Linked DNA regions of Homo sapiens: regions 1, 2, 4 and 5 are each linked to region 3. Evidence: promoter capture Hi-C in 16 types of primary human blood cells and fetal thymus (Javierre and others, 2016). All regions are on one chromosome and are shown on one strand. The core of a region is centred on a gene start or on the middle of the fragment in contact, and the rest is flanking DNA. Distances in the headings are between cores, read along the strand shown.

The links. The method cuts DNA at HindIII sites, captures the fragments that hold promoters and counts their contacts. A CHiCAGO score of 5 or more calls a contact.
Region 1: a contact is called between the fragment with the promoter of NPM1 here and the fragment with the promoter of LCP2 in region 3, in 2 of 17 cell types (activated CD4 T cells and naive CD4 T cells). The highest score is 8.2, in activated CD4 T cells.
Region 2: a contact is called between a fragment that was not itself captured here and the fragment with the promoter of LCP2 in region 3, in 2 of 17 cell types (non-activated CD4 T cells and total CD8 T cells). The highest score is 8.5, in non-activated CD4 T cells.
Region 4: a contact is called between a fragment that was not itself captured here and the fragment with the promoter of LCP2 in region 3, in 1 of 17 cell types (non-activated CD4 T cells). The highest score is 6.3, in non-activated CD4 T cells.
Region 5: the fragment with the promoter of STK10 here is called in contact with the fragment with the promoter of LCP2 in region 3 in 1 of 17 cell types (non-activated CD4 T cells); the score reaches 6.2 in non-activated CD4 T cells.

Annotation. Positions count from the first base shown.
Region 1 is chr5:171,386,064-171,389,269 of GRCh38, reverse strand. It overlaps NPM1 (nucleophosmin 1), which reads right to left and starts at 1,421. Exons shown (of 11, transcript NM_002520.7): 1 at 1,264-1,421. The coding sequence starts at 1,321. It overlaps MIR3912 (microRNA 3912), which reads left to right and starts at 2,510; the gene lies at 2,510-2,614. RefSeq lists silencers at 701-760, 1,081-1,140. The HindIII fragment of the contact is 7,200 bases long and covers 1-2,639 here.
Region 2 is chr5:172,112,931-172,115,848 of GRCh38, reverse strand. The region is part of intron 4 of STK10 (serine/threonine kinase 10); the gene reads left to right. Among named protein-coding and RNA genes, the nearest start is that of STK10, 74 kb to the left of the region's middle. RefSeq lists enhancers at 252-752, 681-990. The HindIII fragment of the contact is 897 bases long and covers 872-1,768 here.
Region 3 is chr5:170,296,141-170,299,217 of GRCh38, reverse strand. It overlaps LCP2 (lymphocyte cytosolic protein 2), which reads left to right and starts at 1,441. Exons shown (of 21, transcript NM_005565.5): 1 at 1,441-1,684. The coding sequence starts at 1,607. RefSeq lists an enhancer at 2,259-2,338. The HindIII fragment of the contact is 7,744 bases long and covers 1-2,612 here.
Region 4 is chr5:172,165,206-172,168,450 of GRCh38, reverse strand. The region is part of intron 1 of STK10 (serine/threonine kinase 10); the gene reads left to right. Among named protein-coding and RNA genes, the nearest start is that of STK10, 21 kb to the left of the region's middle. RefSeq lists an enhancer at 2,975-3,245. The HindIII fragment of the contact is 8,822 bases long and covers 1-3,245 here.
Region 5 is chr5:172,186,802-172,189,630 of GRCh38, reverse strand. It overlaps STK10 (serine/threonine kinase 10), which reads left to right and starts at 1,407. Exons shown (of 19, transcript NM_005990.4): 1 at 1,407-1,744. The coding sequence starts at 1,589. RefSeq lists enhancers at 647-1,422, 2,475-2,554 and silencers at 1,095-1,454, 1,755-1,804, 1,935-2,014. The HindIII fragment of the contact is 8,713 bases long and covers 1,095-2,829 here.

The DNA of each region.
Region 1 (3,206 bases), core at 172-2,671, 1.1 Mb before region 3:
GTTTAATTAACAAATCTCAGCACGGATAATGAACAAGATAAAATTCACGGTAGGATTTGCATTTACTTCAAAGTCTGAATAGTACAAAGATTAGGCTTCTGCAATTAATCCTACTGAGATCAAAAACCCAAGTGGGACTCTCCTTTTTGGGGCAGGACTACCGCAAGTCGAGGGGGGTGGTGCTCCCAAAATTCTGCGAATAGTCTTAGGTCTTGATCTGACTCAAACCGAACACTCTACGTGTTTCTTGTATTTAGAAAAGCAGTTTGGTCAATGCCGCACAAATGGCGGCATGCGAGGACGTCCCCCTAAAACGAAGCCTCATTAATATTCACGAAGCAGCAGCTACGGAGTCAAGCGTCTTGGTTTAGATTTAGTCTCTTATTGCCTTTACTAAGTACAACCTTCGTTAAGTGAGTTTATCTCTGGGCACCAGTATCCTCATCTGCAAAGTGGGGCTAGCTCCACCTACCGCAGTGAGACAGAAAAGGGGCTCAAAAAAATGAGAGCTGCCATCACAGTACATGCTGTAAGCACTGAACAAAGACCTCCAGAACCCTAGTGCTACCAGCCTCTTAACATTTCCCACTTCAACAGAGCCACAGCATCCCTGGCTCACGAGTGGCAACACGCCGGTGAGTCCCGGATGTAGCGCCCACACCCCCCTCCCTCCCCCAACCACGTGGCAACCACGTGCTCCCAGCGGTTGCGGCCTCCTCACGCCGCGCCGCGCCTCCCCACCCCCAGTAACTGGCCGAAGCACGCGAGGTAAGTCTACGTCCGGCAGCTCCAGGCTCTGAGGCCAGAATAACGCCAGGCTGTGCATCTACCCGCTCCAACAAGCAGGCCCATGCTTCCCGGTGAACCCAGCCTCCAGGACCACCAACCCGGGGCCTGGCATCAGAAGCCTATGAACCACCGCCGTTAGAAAATAAACCACGCCTGGAGCTCCGCCACGTATCCCCGGCAAAGGCCGAACTTCCAGGCGGCCGGTTCCACTTTACCTCAGGCCCCGGGCCTCGGACCGCTCACGCCCCAGACGCTTCAGGCCGCTCGTCTCCTCCCCCTTCACGCCACCGGCTCCCCCCGCGGCTCCAATCCCTCCAGGTCCAGGGCTCAGGCAGCTCTTCCCACCCGCTCAGGCCTCCCGTCGGTCTGGCGGTCTCCACCAGACCCGGTTGCAGCCGGATTCCCGCCCCTCACCCCCACCCTCACCGCCACCAGGCCCCGCTCGGCCTCGCTCCAGCTCCCCCCAGCAGTTACCGAAAAGATAGTTCTGGGGCCTCAGGGGGCTCATGTCCATGTCCATCGAATCTTCCATCGGGTGGCGGCACGCACTTAGGTAGGAGAGAAGGCGGACGGAGATAAAAGAACGCTGCTCCAGAGAACAACCGCGCAGGACGGAATCACACCAGGGAAAGGACGCAGGCTCCCCGCGCTTATATATAGACCCTGAAGATCTCGCGAGCGCTTCCCAAGTCCCGCCTCCGCGCGCGTGCTCCGAAGCCCTCCCACCCCCGTACCGTAGCCGTCCTGCGCAAGCGCTTTTCAACCCCACTCCTTTCTACCTCGCCCCCACCTCCTTCCAGGTACTCCGCGGGCTCCCACCGAGCACGCGCACTCGTACACTGGCCCCACCCCTCCGCTGCTGTCGCCTGTGCGCACGCGTGCTTTCCAGTCGTAACGCGCACTCCCCACCTCCAACCCTTCCACGTCCTCTCCCGCTCAAGCGCGCCGGCCTCCCGCCAAGAGTCTGCGCAGCCCACCCTGCAAAATGGCGTCGGCAGCCCTTAGCTGTGTAAGATATGGCGGGTTAGCCGGCTGCGAATGAGCCAGAGAGCACCTCGATTCACCTTTCCCCATCCCCTAGTGCCCTGCAAGCCTCCAAACAGGCGTAATCACTTCAGGAATTTTTTACTTGCCTGAAGGCTTCGGATCGCAGTTAATCGTTACCCCAAAGTTCAGGTGCCAGAGAGAGTGAATTGCGGCTTATTCTTTGTTAGGAAGGAAAGATGTAGTTACCGGCCAGACTTACGGAACTTTGTTTTTCAGCTCTGTCCTTCCTGAGAAAACATCTCCAAAGTCCTTATCTTTACGTAACTTGGGGGCCAAAAGGGGACTGAATCAGTCTCCAAATTAGCAAGGACATCGCCCTAAGAGAGCTCGGAGGGTGGGCCGACTCTGACTTCTTGCCGCTCTTAATCTTTAACATTCCTCCTGAAAGAAAGCGGGTGACTTGTAAGAACTACAGAAGCCTTAATTCGAATATTTGGGAGCGAGCATGGGAATTAACGTTTTAAGCTACACCTTGACAAACTCCGAGGCACCCCAGCACCCCGCGGGCATTGGGGCGTTCTGAAGACCCGTAATCTTTTTTTTTTAAGCCTCAACATATCAAACAAATTTAAGAAGTGAGGAATACAAATGATAGCCTCAGAAAGGAAGACACCCCCACCCCAAGGCATTATTTCTTACAGGAAAATTATAGAGACGATTTCAGTGTCTATCAAGAGAGGAATGAACAGTTAAATTATAACATGTCCATATTATGGGTTAGTTGTGGACACATACTAACGCATAATATGGACATGTTATAATTTAACTGTTCCTTTCTGAGAGCTCCTGTGTCACATAAAGCTTTGAGTCACTTAAATTTGTTATGCCTTTTTTTGTGTGTGTGTGGAGACAGAGTCTCGCTGTGTTGTCCAGGCTGGAGTGCAGTGGCGTGATCTCCGCTGGATGCAACCTCCGCCTCCCGGGCTCCCGAGTAGCGAGGACTACAGGTGCATGCCACCACGCCCGACTAATTTTTGTATTTTAGGAGGGATGGGGTTTCGCTGTGTTCTCCAGGCTGGGCTCAAACTCCTGACCTCGGGTGATCCGCCTGTCTCTGCCTTCCAAAGTGCTGGGATTTCAGGCGTGAGCCACCGCACCCAGCCAGCATTTTTTTTTTTTTTAAACGGGGTCTCGCTCTCTTGCCCAGGCTGCAGTGCAGTGGCAAGATCTCTGACTCACGAGTTCTGCCTCTTGAGTTCCAGCAATTCTCGTGCCTCAGCCTCCCAAGTAGCTGGGATTACAGGTGCCTGCCACCGCGTCCAGCTAATTGTTGTATATTTAGTAGAAACAGGGTTTCGCCATGTTGGCCTCCCAAAGTGCTGGGATTACAGGCGTGAGTCACCACACCCGGCCACTGTTTTATTTTTTAT
Region 2 (2,918 bases), core at 71-2,570, 1.8 Mb before region 3:
GGGGGCCTGGTTCTTTCACTAGAGCTACCATGCACTGAGCCAGCATCTGATATGTGTTAACTCATTCCATTCTCAAAAGCCACTGATATCATCTTGCAGGATGGATTTGGGACCTAGCAAGACTGACTTATCCAAGGTCACATTGCCGATAAGAGGAACAACTGGGGTTCAAACCAAGGCAGCTGGGTCCAGAGCCTACGTGCTTAACCACTACCCTCTTGTCGCCTCTCTTAGTGGCAAATGATAAAAACCCACTTCCTAAGAGTTAAGGCAGACAGGAAAATGTGTACATCATGGAGCCAAATTGGAGAAGAAATACAGCTGGGTGGGCCTTAAAGTTAGTTGAAACCTGGAACATAAACGCTGCCAGGACCGTATCCCTGGCCCTTAACGCTGCCAGGACCGTATCCCTGGCCCTTGGCTTTCTGTGCATGTAGGTTCGGCTCCCAGACCAACCCTCTCCACCAAGCTCAGGATACCATCTAGTTTCACATTTCCCGGCATCATCTGCTGCTGCCTGAACCCGAACTCACCATTGGAGGCTTTGGCATCAATAATCCCAGGGGAGGGCTCTGACTGGCCCCGTTTGGCCCAGATAGTAATCCTTGGACCAATCAGTGAGGCCCAGGCAGGAGGGGGTCTCCCACAGGCCCGGCTTGTCTTCAGTCTCTGGCACGGAGGGTGGGGTCACGTGACAACACGGAAGTAGCCCTCGCCCCCGCAATGAGGCAGTGTGGTGGGTGGGGAGATGGTTTTTCAGAGGAAGGGAGGATTCGGACTGGCCAGAAAAAAAAATTGCGGTCTACCTACCCTGCCCAGCCTGTGAGAATCGCACAGGCCCAGCAGAGGGGAAGTAAGTGAGGCAGAAGCTTGAGGGATGGGAAGCAACAAGAAAGGGCTGGGTTGGCGGTGAGTGCGTGGAGGGTGTCAGGAAGACAGTGCAGTGTGTTGCGAGGAGGAGAGTCAGTGAAGGCCGAAGGTGGGGGGTCAAACCGGAAGACGAAGCCCTTATCAAATGGGCACGCGTCTCTAGGTTCCTAAAAAACGGAAGAAAATAAAAATAACCGGCCGGGTGCGGTGGCTCACGCCTGTAATCCCAGCACTTTGGGAGGCCGAGGCGGGCGGATCACGAGGTCAGGAGATCAAGACCATCCTGGCTAACACGGTGAAATCCCATCTCTACTAAAAATACAAAAAAATTAGCCAGGCATGGTGGCGGGCGCCTGTAGTCCCAGCTACTCGGGAGGCTGAGGTAGGAGAATGGCGTGAACCCGGGAGGCGGAGCTTGCAGTGAGCCGAGATTGCGCCACTGCACTCCAGCCTGGGCGACAGAGTGAGACTCCGTCTCAAAAAAAAAAAAAAAAAAAAAAAAAAATATATATATATATATATATATATAATTTTAATATACATAAATTTGGAGCTATACACAGCAAACCCGTAAATGTTTAGTTGTCAGTATTATAGTTTTTAATCTGAAAAATAATGAGTTTTTAATAAGCAACATGACTTTGGTAATCAGAAAACACACATACACACACACACACACACACACACACGAGAGTAGCTAGAGTCCTGTACACAATTTGGAATAAGACCCACAAAAAGGAGAATTAAGGTCCTTCCTAATCCTGCCAGAATAAACCACCACTCTCCGTGGGCTTCCCTCCAAGTCTTTTTTTGTCTGCAGAAAAGTCGGATCAGATAGTGGGAAAGAGCACAGCTGGGTGACCTTCTGTGCATTACTTAGTCTTTCTTAAGTTAAGCTTCCTTATCTGTAAAATGGGAGTCATAATTTTCCCTGCCTTAAAGGGTCATAGATATAAACGATGTGTGTAGGAATAGATATGCAGATGATATGCATAAGTTTCTTTGCACAGTGCTATGCATATGGTAAGTTCTCAGTAAATATTAGTTTTTCTTTTTTTTTTTTTTGAGATGGAGTTTTGCTTTTGTTGCCCAGGCTGGAGTGCAATGGCACGATCTTAGCTCTCCACAACCGCTGCCTCCTGGGTTCAAGCGATTCTCTTGCATCAGCCTCCTGAGCAGCTGGGATTACAGGCATGTGCCACCACGCCTGGCTAATTTCGTATTTTTAGTAGAGAGGGGATTTTTCCATGTTGGTTTTTGTCTCGAACTCCTGACCTCAGGTGATCTGCCTGCCTCAGCCTCCCAAAGTGCTGGGATTACAGGCATGAGCCACCGTGTCCGGTGACAATATTAGTTTTTATAAGATAAACTAGGATTATTATATATATATACAGTTTCCTAGTCTGGTTTTTAACATTGAATATCAGCGTATTCCTCCATATCCTTAAAGATTCCTCAGAAACATGATTATTTTCGTGTTTTTCTTGTACCCATCACAGGCACAAAATGTAATTTACCTATCAGAGCCCTGAGGAAAGCCCTGAATTGGATACTTGGGTTTCTCATGAGGTTTATCATCTTTACGAAATCATGCAGTGATGAGTGTGCTTGTTCATGGATCTTTGCGTCTCTTTCTGTAACATACCTTGAAGAGGAATTCTCAGAAGCAGAGTGCTGGGTGTGTGCAGTGAGTTGGGGTTTTGTTCATCCTGCAGCCGGCATGCCCTCCGTGCTGGTCATACCAGTTGACACCCCCCCCAGTGCAGTGTGCAATTCTCTTTTCACCACATCCTGGCCCCTACTGGGTTTTACTTAATAGAGAAAAAACAAAAAAACCCACAAAACCAAAAAACTTTGCTACATATGCATTTCAGTTTTTTAAACCATAGAAACAATACACTCTATCAAAAACATTTTAAAGAACAAAAGTGGGTCGGGCGCGTTGGCTCATGCCTGTAATCCTAGCACTTTGGGAGGCCGAGGCAGGTGGATCACCTGAGGTCGGGATTTTGAGACCAGCCTGACCAACATGATGAAACCCCCCGTCT
Region 3 (3,077 bases), core at 192-2,691:
TGCAGTGAGCCGAGATGGCACCATTGCACTCCAGCCCGGGCAACAAGAGCGAAACTCCGTCTCAATAAAAAAAAAAAAAAAAAAAGAAAGAAAGAAAGAAAGAGAGAAAAGAAAAGAGTTCTTAGGTGTGAGGCCCTGCAAGGAGCAAATGGCCTGGGCTACCTTCACTGATGCCCTCAGCACCTTCTAAGGTGAGGCTAACACCAGCTCACATTGATGAGCTAGTGCTGGGCCTGGAGCAAAATGTGTATTTCATTTAAGCTGCCCACCAGCTTGTGAGGCAGGTGCATTACCGTGACGGCGGGGCTCCTCAGAGTGTGTATAAGAAGAAAACTGTGCATGGCCAAAGCTATGCTTGAAAACCCTCAGGAAGGCACCACCTCAAGGACCAACATAGCATCACTTAGTAAAGGCAACAGCCTTGGAACAGATGACTCGTGTGTGTGTGTGTGTGTGTGTGTGTGTGTGTGTGGCATTAGATGAAGTAGTAACTTGTGTTTAGAGGTTGCCTTATTGCACAAATATAGTTGCTTTTATACACTGGACTCACCCTCTGCCAATAAGTTGTTCAGTTATGAGAAATGAACAATGTCTGAAACTAAGAAAACAGCAAATTCTCACCTCCTATCTCCAGGGAATGTGCTCTTTGGCTAGAATATATGGCAGAATCAATAGTGAATAAAATATATTGTGGAAACAATAGTGAATGGAATATATGACACTACCAATAGCAATTGTTAAGTTTTTTTTCTTTTTAATTTTTCTTTTTAGGTTTGTCTAGTTGAATGCATCTAAGTTTTATGTGCATATGAAGAATCACTGTTTTCCTATTATACAGATTTGGAAACTGAGATTCCCAGCTTTTAACTCCTTGCCTAAGGTTGCATAGCACAGAAATAGTCATATCAGAAACTGAGCCCTGTCTGCACAGTGTAGCACCTTGTTCAGCCCTGGGTGCCTGACTCACTCACTCCTTGAGGACCCTCTCATGACAACTGTAAAGAGGCAGCTGAAAGAATCCCAGTCTTTGATGGTGGGAGGGGAAAGTGGTTGGAAAGCATTAAAAAAACATGCTCCAGCAGTTCACTGATGTGGGAAATTGTCTGTATTTCAGGTCAACCGTCAGGATAGATTTTGGTCTGCAAAGCCCCAGCTGAGCAAGAATGCAGTGTAGACATATGGGTGCCCAGAGTTTAAAGGAAAATTACTCAGACTCACATTGGAGTTTAAGACCCCTTCATTGCCTCTCCTACTGGGTTGGGGTGACTGGAGCCAGTGGGGAATTACCAACCCTGTGGCTCTCTCTGCATCTCAAGCCTCCAGAGCTGGGCTTCCTTGTTTACTTATTTAGAGCCCAGCAGAGGAAGTGGTAAAGGAAACTAGCTGAGTCGTTTTCTGAGAAGAGACCATATTTGTTCGCAGAGGAAGCCGTTGCTTTCTGGGATCTGGCTACGCCAGAAAAGACATCGGCTCCAACAGGGGTGTTCCACAGGGTAGCTGGGAGTTGGAAGAGCCAAGAACGCCTCCGAGCTCTGGATTTGAGCTTCTCTGCCCATGGGTGAAGCGCCCATGCTCAGCTTGTGAGCTTCTTCCCGGGAGAGCAGCCATGGCACTGAGGAATGTGCCCTTTCGCTCAGAGGTCCTGGGCTGGGACCCCGACAGCCTTGCTGACTATTTCAAGAAGGTAAGCCTTGCTCTTGTGTGAATGGTCATGATGCTAGTGCCCTTGGTGGGCTGAGCTGAGGCTTGACGATGGAATTGGGGCAGAATGTGGGAGGTGTATAAGATAGCAATGGAACCCTATGGCAACTTTACTGGTTGAGTGAGCGCCATATAGACCGCTGAGTTTTCCTGACCATGAGTTCCGGAGAGAAGGATGGGAGCAGAAGCCCTCAAATGAGTATGTGCCTATTATGTGCTAGGGTTTGAATTCGGTGTCTCACAGGCACTGTCCCATTTAGCGCTCCCTACTATGTTGTGAGGTCAGCATTGTTATCCCCTTGACTCAGCTGCAAAATCAGCTCAGGGAAGTGAAATGGTCCGAAGCCCTAGGGACTACATGTGATAGAGGCAAGACTCAAGCCACACCTATCTGGTTTTAAAGTCCATGCTCTGAGATGCAGAGAACTGTTGTAACTGCTAATGAGATCAACGCTACTTACTAGAAAGGGGAGACGTGGTGTCCTGGAGGCAGGAGAAAGAATAGGCAGGGTGGGAGGGCTGGATAGAGGACTATGATGAGCAGTGCCAGACACAGCATTTGGGCTTTCACTGCTCACGACCCTAAGGGGGGTCCTCAAGCTCCCGCCTGGGGCAGTCTCCTTGGAGCCTTATGAGAGTCTTGTGAAGCAGGACAGAAAACTGATGTGAGCCCCAATTTATAGCTATGAAAACTGAGGCCCCTAGAGGAAAAGAGGCTTGTGGCGGTGCTGGGACCAGAGCGTTGCTGTCTTATCTTCTGGACTTAGAGGAAAGGTTGAAGGATCCCTGTGCTTGGTCATTGGCAGAAGGGGACAACGCATCTGCTTGGGCAGATCTCAAGCCACATGACTTAGTTATAGTCCCTCTACCCTGACCATGTGGTAAGATGACTTGTGCGAGACGGTTAAGCTTCTAACACCCTCATCCCTGCAGGCTGGCATCGGATTCTGTTGATATTCCAGACTGTCATAAAGATGAGATTGTAAAGCTAAGATGGTAGAAGTCATCTAATTCAGCTTCGTGTTTTTCCTGGGGAAATTGAGATTCAAGAGGGTAGACGAGGTTCCCTAGGACGTATAGCCAAACCTGGGGTCTATGCATTTCCGAGGCATTTATAGTCACAGCTGTTCTCCCCCAACCTGAAGAAGAAAATGAGAACATGTTGAACTAGGTGTGGTATGGTAGGGGTACAGTTCACAGATCCTGTTTTTTGCCATATTTTGTGCTTTCATTTCTGTTATTTTCCTTCTGCAAGGTCATAATAAACTTAGATTTCAGCAAATATTGTTGCGCAACTGGTTTTTTGAAGGATGTTTCTAAATATCTTGCTCAAATATAGACCAAATAAGATAGGGCAACAAGGTAAAATTTGCCAA
Region 4 (3,245 bases), core at 419-2,918, 1.9 Mb before region 3:
CTCAAGCCCATGTCAGCTGGCCACCCCGGCTCTGTGTCTGCTGTCCTCAGGTCACCCCCTTTGGCTTTATGTTGGGCCCTTTTCCTGCACATAGTCAGTTCTGCTGTGACCGTGGTTTTCTCTGGGGCCAGATTTTCTCTCTCCTAAATAGAGTCGCAGCCCTTCCTGCGATTGACCGCCTTCATCACCATGCAAAGATTAACTGTGTTCAGGCAGGGACAGCACAGCTGTACATTGTGTGACACCCAGACCAAGCCCTGCTTTGGTTCCAGTGGCCTGAACCATATTTGATACATGCCTGGCACGGCCGTCCAGAATAAAGACAGGGAAATAGGAACCCTGAGCCCTGACTGCTCCGTCCTTTGGCTCTGACCCACACCCAGGCTTTTCATCCGACAGGTCAGCTGGGAGCCTTCCCTCACACCTGCCACTCAGCCAGGTTGCTAGGAGACTTCCGTAGCAAATGATCATTGGGTGGGGTTCCTCTGCTGATTCCTTGCACATGTCCCCTTTTGCTTCCTAGAAAAAGAAACCCATGTTTCAGAATCTGGGTCTGGGACAGTGGAGTGAGTTTTAGATGCTCCCTTACCTCCGAAGAGGCATTTTCTGCCAGAGAGGGCTGGGGGTGAACTTTCTACAGTGATCGAAGTGTTCTGTATGTACCTGCTCTGTTCAATACGGTAGCCACAGTGTGGTGGCACGTGAAATGTGGCTAATGCAACTGAGGAACTAAATTTTTGCTTCATATCTATTAATTTAAATAGCCACGTGCGGCTAGTAGCTACTGTATCAGACAGTGCAGCTCATGTGGGTTCCGAAAGAACGAGGGTGTCTGTCTCTGGAACGTGTAAGGCAAGCTCAGATGAAGTGGTCTCTCTCTATGTGGGAGGCTTATTTGCACCAGTCCCAGTCTGCCCTCGCTGGGACCCCTGTGGATAATTGCCAGATGTCACTGGGTGAAAATCATCTTTATAAATCGCTTGACTTCATTATGCTGTGTTTTAGCTCGTCCCTGTCCATAGGCACATGCAGTTTTCCCAAAGGAAAATTGTAGCCTAGTTACAATTTCATTATCCTATTTTGTTATTTACTATTATGGCTTAAGGATTTTTTCTCATTACTGTATTATCTTCTTGTTTATCATTTAAGGGTTACTTAATATCCCATTAAGTTAATTTAACCATTGTCTTTAGTGATTTCACCTTTTTTCTATTATTATGGACTAATATAAACTGAACATGATCCTAGTACATTTCTTTTGTTGCCTTTCTTTTTTTTCTTTTTTTTTTTTTGAGACAGATTCTTGCTCTGTTCCCAGGCTGGAGTGCAGTGGCACGATCTCAGCTCACCACAACCTCTGCCTCCCAGGTTCAAGTGATTCTTCTGCCCCAGCCTCCCGAGTAGCTGGGACTACAGGTGCGCGCCATCTTGCCTGGCTAATTTTTGTATTTTTAGTAGAGACGGGGTTTCACTATGTTGGTCAGCCTGGCCTCGAACTTCTGACTTTCTGATCCGCCCGCCTCAGCCCCTCAAAGTGCTGGGATTACAGGCACGAGCCACCGTGCCTGGCCTGTTGTCTTTTTAAAAGTATTTCCTGGCCTTAAATTCCCAGGAATGAGGGATAATAGGCTGAAAAGGTATTTTCATGGCTTTTAAAACCTATTTCCAATTGTTGTCTTTGAAAGATTGAATCAGTTTCTATTCTTGTCAGTAATGCGTTCACCCATTTTACTACATCGTCTCCAGTGCTGGGTTGTCACAATTGCATGTTTTTGCTAATTTATTAAGTGTAAAATGATCCTTTCCACTTTTTTGGAGGAAGATTCTTTTGGCAGAAGAATTCCATAGTTGCTGTTGGCCTCTGTCCTACGTGTTTTCCATGTAGGTCTCCAAATCCTAGATTATCAGTCAGCTCTTTGGTGAGGTCTCAGTGAATGTCACCTTATAGATTATGGTGGGCTTGGGAATGAAGGTGGCCCTTGATACACGCGTGTTGTGTGGTGAGGCACTCCTCTAGATATCTGTTCCTTGCTGGAACAGCCCCAGAGAGAGGGAACTCATCTCCTTCTTGGTGGCCAATGGCAGGAATCCAAAAGGGAATTTATCGGCTCATGTAACTGAGAAGTCTACGGGTAGAGTCCGCCTTCAGGTACAGCTGTCTCCAGGTGTTCCACAGAGCCAGTAGCACTCCATTTGTGAGCCCTGCTTCTGCCATCTTGGCCTCACCCTCCGGCAGCCACTCTGAAGGAGTGGCAAGATGGGCTACAAGACCCTTCAGCCTTTCATTCTACCGATTTAGCAGCGCCAGAGAAAGAAAAAGCTGCTGTCCTGATAACTTCAGCAAAAATGCAAACAACTGGCCGAGCGCAGTGGCTCACGCCTGTAATCCCTGCGCTTTGGGAGGCCAAGGTGGGCGGATCACTTGAGGTCGGGAGTTCGAGACCAGCCTGACCAACATGGAGAAACCCCGTCGCCACTAAAAATACAAAAACAGCCGGGCGTGGTGGCGCATGCCTGTAATCCCAGCTACTCGGGAGGCTGAGGCAGGAGAATCACTTGAATCCGGGAGGTGGAGGTTGCAGTGAGCCAAGATCGCACCATTGCACTCCAGCCTGGGCAACAAAGAGGGAAACTCCGTCTCAAAAAAAAAAAAAAAAGCAAACAACCAAAAACAAATTTAAAGAGCCACCCAGGCACGACCCTGTTGGCCTGCCTTGGGACCATGCCCAGGCATCTCTGAACCAATGACTGTGACAAGTTTCATTTTCAGGCGCCCTTGGTTCAGTCCTCTGATTAGCTGGGCCTGGGGTATGCCCCGGCCCAGGGTGAGGTCAACCCGCTATGAATCCCTTGGACTCAGAGCGAGGGAGAGGCAGTGTCCAAAAGCAACTAGAGTTTTGAATCCACAAGGGGGAATGGATGCTGGCCAAGTCCCCCACTGCTCCCCAGCCCCAGGGTCAATTTCCCAGCAGCTCCAGTGGCTCCCAGACCTGAGGTTAGGGGTGCCCCAGGAACAGGCCCCTCTAGGCTCTTTGCTCTTGTGTTCTCATTTACTCTTCTTGAGGCACACCTGTGTCACAGATGAGACAAGTGTCACAGATGGGACCCTGGTCTCTGCATTCGCCTTGGTGGACTCAGCTTCCTCATCTGCAGAGTTGGGTTGGGGAGCTGGAGTTAAGGAGGGGTGGCTAATGTTTTCTCACTGTCCTGAGGTCTGTGATATCAGCTATTTCCCGGGAAGCGGT
Region 5 (2,829 bases), core at 158-2,657, 1.9 Mb before region 3:
TCAGCATGTTTTGGGAGGTTCAGACAGCGCCTGACTCAATGAGAACGGTCAGCGACGAGCGGCGTTTCCTTCTTTTAAAGACCCTCTACAATTCCAGGCACTCCTGCAGCTGTGGAAACATTCCGAACGGCTTAGCAACCAGGACACCCTCTGCGCCGACCACTACCAGCATCGCAGGCTTCTTGAGCTGGCTTTCCCAGTGGAAAACCATGCTTGGTGTTTGCACACTGTTCAAAGGATGTTTTCGAACAAAGCACCGAGGAAGGGGCGAAAACACCTCAACACAGCCGTTCTCTGGGGTTGGAGCTATTGAACTGTGACATTTGCGAAGACTCAACTTGTTTATGACACGGTCCAAATAATAACCCTTGCAGACTGCCCGCCCCCCCCCCCCACCCCCAGCACTCTCCTTAGATTCAGGTAAAAGCATGTTATAACCGTCTATAGGACAAACAGGCAACAGTAGCAGTGAAGTGACTCAAGTAGCCAGGATCGAGAATGAAGGTGCTCAAAGAAGACTTTAGTTTGATCTGTATGTAGTGCGCTCATCTTTTTTGAAACTAGGAAATTAAAAATTAGAATAAAGTTTTTATTTAATATGCAAATACATCCGCAAACCCATCAGGAAACATAAGAGAAATCAGTGCCAAAGGAGCTCTTTCTCCCAGCCCTCTAATCCTGGCAGGTTTGTGGATCGTGGACGGGGAGCCCCTGGAAAGGACCGCGCCGGGAAGCCGGGCCCTGCAGGGACTGGCCGCGGCTGCACCGGCGTTGCCCGTCGCACACTAGGAGGCAGCACCGCGCCGAGGAACCCGCAGCAGACGGGCAGCCAGCGTGTGTGCCTGGGGCGAGTGCCCTCGCCTGCCGGCGTCCCCATCGGAAAAGTGGGGGCGAGGGCAGCCTAGCGGAATAGCTGCGGGAGGATTAAATGAACGAGTGCAGGTTCACCTTCTGGGCGCTGACAACGATCCGTGGGCTCTCGCGAAATGCCAAGTCGCCGTCCCGCTTGCTCCCATAAAAGTTTTGGGAGCCACGCGGCGCGGCGGGCGGGCTCCTGAGTCCATGAGCGGTCCCACCGAGCGGTCCCCGAAGCTTCCCCAAAGCCCAGCCCGCGGCTCGCGGAGCGTGGTGTGGGGGGACTACAGTTTCCAGAGTGCCCTGCGGCGACGGGCGGAGCCGGGGAGCGCCCGCAGCCAATTAGGGGGTCCCGGGGCTCTGCCGGGGAGCGGCGGGTGGAGCCGGGCCGGTGGGCGGGCGCGGGGACGGTCCCCTGGAACGGGTCCGAGGCTCTCGCAGGCAGGGCTGGGCCGGGCAGGAGCTGCGAGGCCGGCACAAGGGAGGCGGCCCTGGGGACCTGACAGGGCGGGGGCGGGGGCGGGCACGCCGCCGCCTGCGCGGTTCCGGGTGCTCCCGGCGCGGCGCTGCCCAGGGCACACTTGACCGAGGTCGGGCTGCGGGGAAAGGCGGGTCTGGGGAGAACCCCGAGAGACGCGGCGTCCTCCAACTCCTCCTCCTTCTCCTCGCGGCCGCCGAAGCCACAGCCCGAGCCCGAGCCCGAGCCCGAGCCGGCGCCACCGCGCCCCCGGCCATGGCTTTTGCCAATTTCCGCCGCATCCTGCGCCTGTCTACCTTCGAGAAGAGAAAGTCCCGCGAATATGAGCACGTCCGCCGCGACCTGGACCCCAACGAGGTGTGGGAGATCGTGGGCGAGCTGGGCGACGGCGCCTTCGGCAAGGTTTACAAGGTGAGGGCGCTGAGGTGGGTGGCCGGACGCGCGTCGAGGGGCTCCGGAAGGAAGGGATGCCTGAGCCGGACCCGGCCAGCCTGGCTCCGGCTCCGAGGGCTGCCCGGCGCTGAATTCGGGGTCCCTGGCCCTCATCCCGATGACTCTTGTTTTTTGGGGGGAACATCACTCGGCCCGGCCGAGTCCCTGCGCTCTGGGCGCCCCCTCCGGGCACGGTTGCCGCCCCCACCCTAGCCCTGTTTCGGAGCACTTCCTGTGTGTCCTGCACTGCGCTCGGCGCCGCACGGGGAGACAAAGGGGCGTTGACAGGACCTCAGCATCCGAGAGGGCCACTCGAGGGACCTTCCAGGGACGTTCCGTAAAACGGCGATACGGGCACACTTTTTTTTTTAAGAGAGACCACAGATGCTGTGGGAATATCGAGGCGATGTGGACCGAGAAACTCGGCTGCGCTTGGACGGGTTGGGAGCTAGGGACACATCTGAAGATGAGCCAGAGACAGGGAAGTGGGGTGGGCGAGGGGTGGCCCATGGACTGAGAGGTGGGGCTTGGAAAGGTGGGTTGGGGCTGGTCAGAGGGGGAGGTCAGGATCTGGTGAATGCTGAGCCTGGGGGAACAGATTTGATTCCGTCGGTCTGAGTCACAGCTGGGGAGTCTCCCAGCCTGCAGTCACCTCTCCCCTAGAGGAAGACGCGGCAGAGAGCTTTTGTGGAGTGGGTGGGGCAGAGCTGATTGAGTCTAGAGAAGTGTGGCAGCAGGACGTTGGTTTCTGCTCCTGGGAGCTAATTCTGAGGTGGTGAGTTGTTTTAGGGAGCCAACACCTACAGCTTGACTCCCCCCTTTCCCCTAAGAAAATTTTTACTGGGAGACGCCCACTTGTTAAATTGGTGTATACCTCCAGGAGAGCACCTCTCTTCTAAGCCACTATCCTCCTCCTTGGGGCTCCTGTAGCTTGTAGGGCACTCTGACCCTAGGATTGCCGTTCTATGAGGCTGGACCACAGAGAAGGCTTCTCCAGGCCTTCTCCTCTGACTTGGAAGTGGTCTATCGCCTAGTTACCGAAGTAGTTCCTAGATGACCGGTGT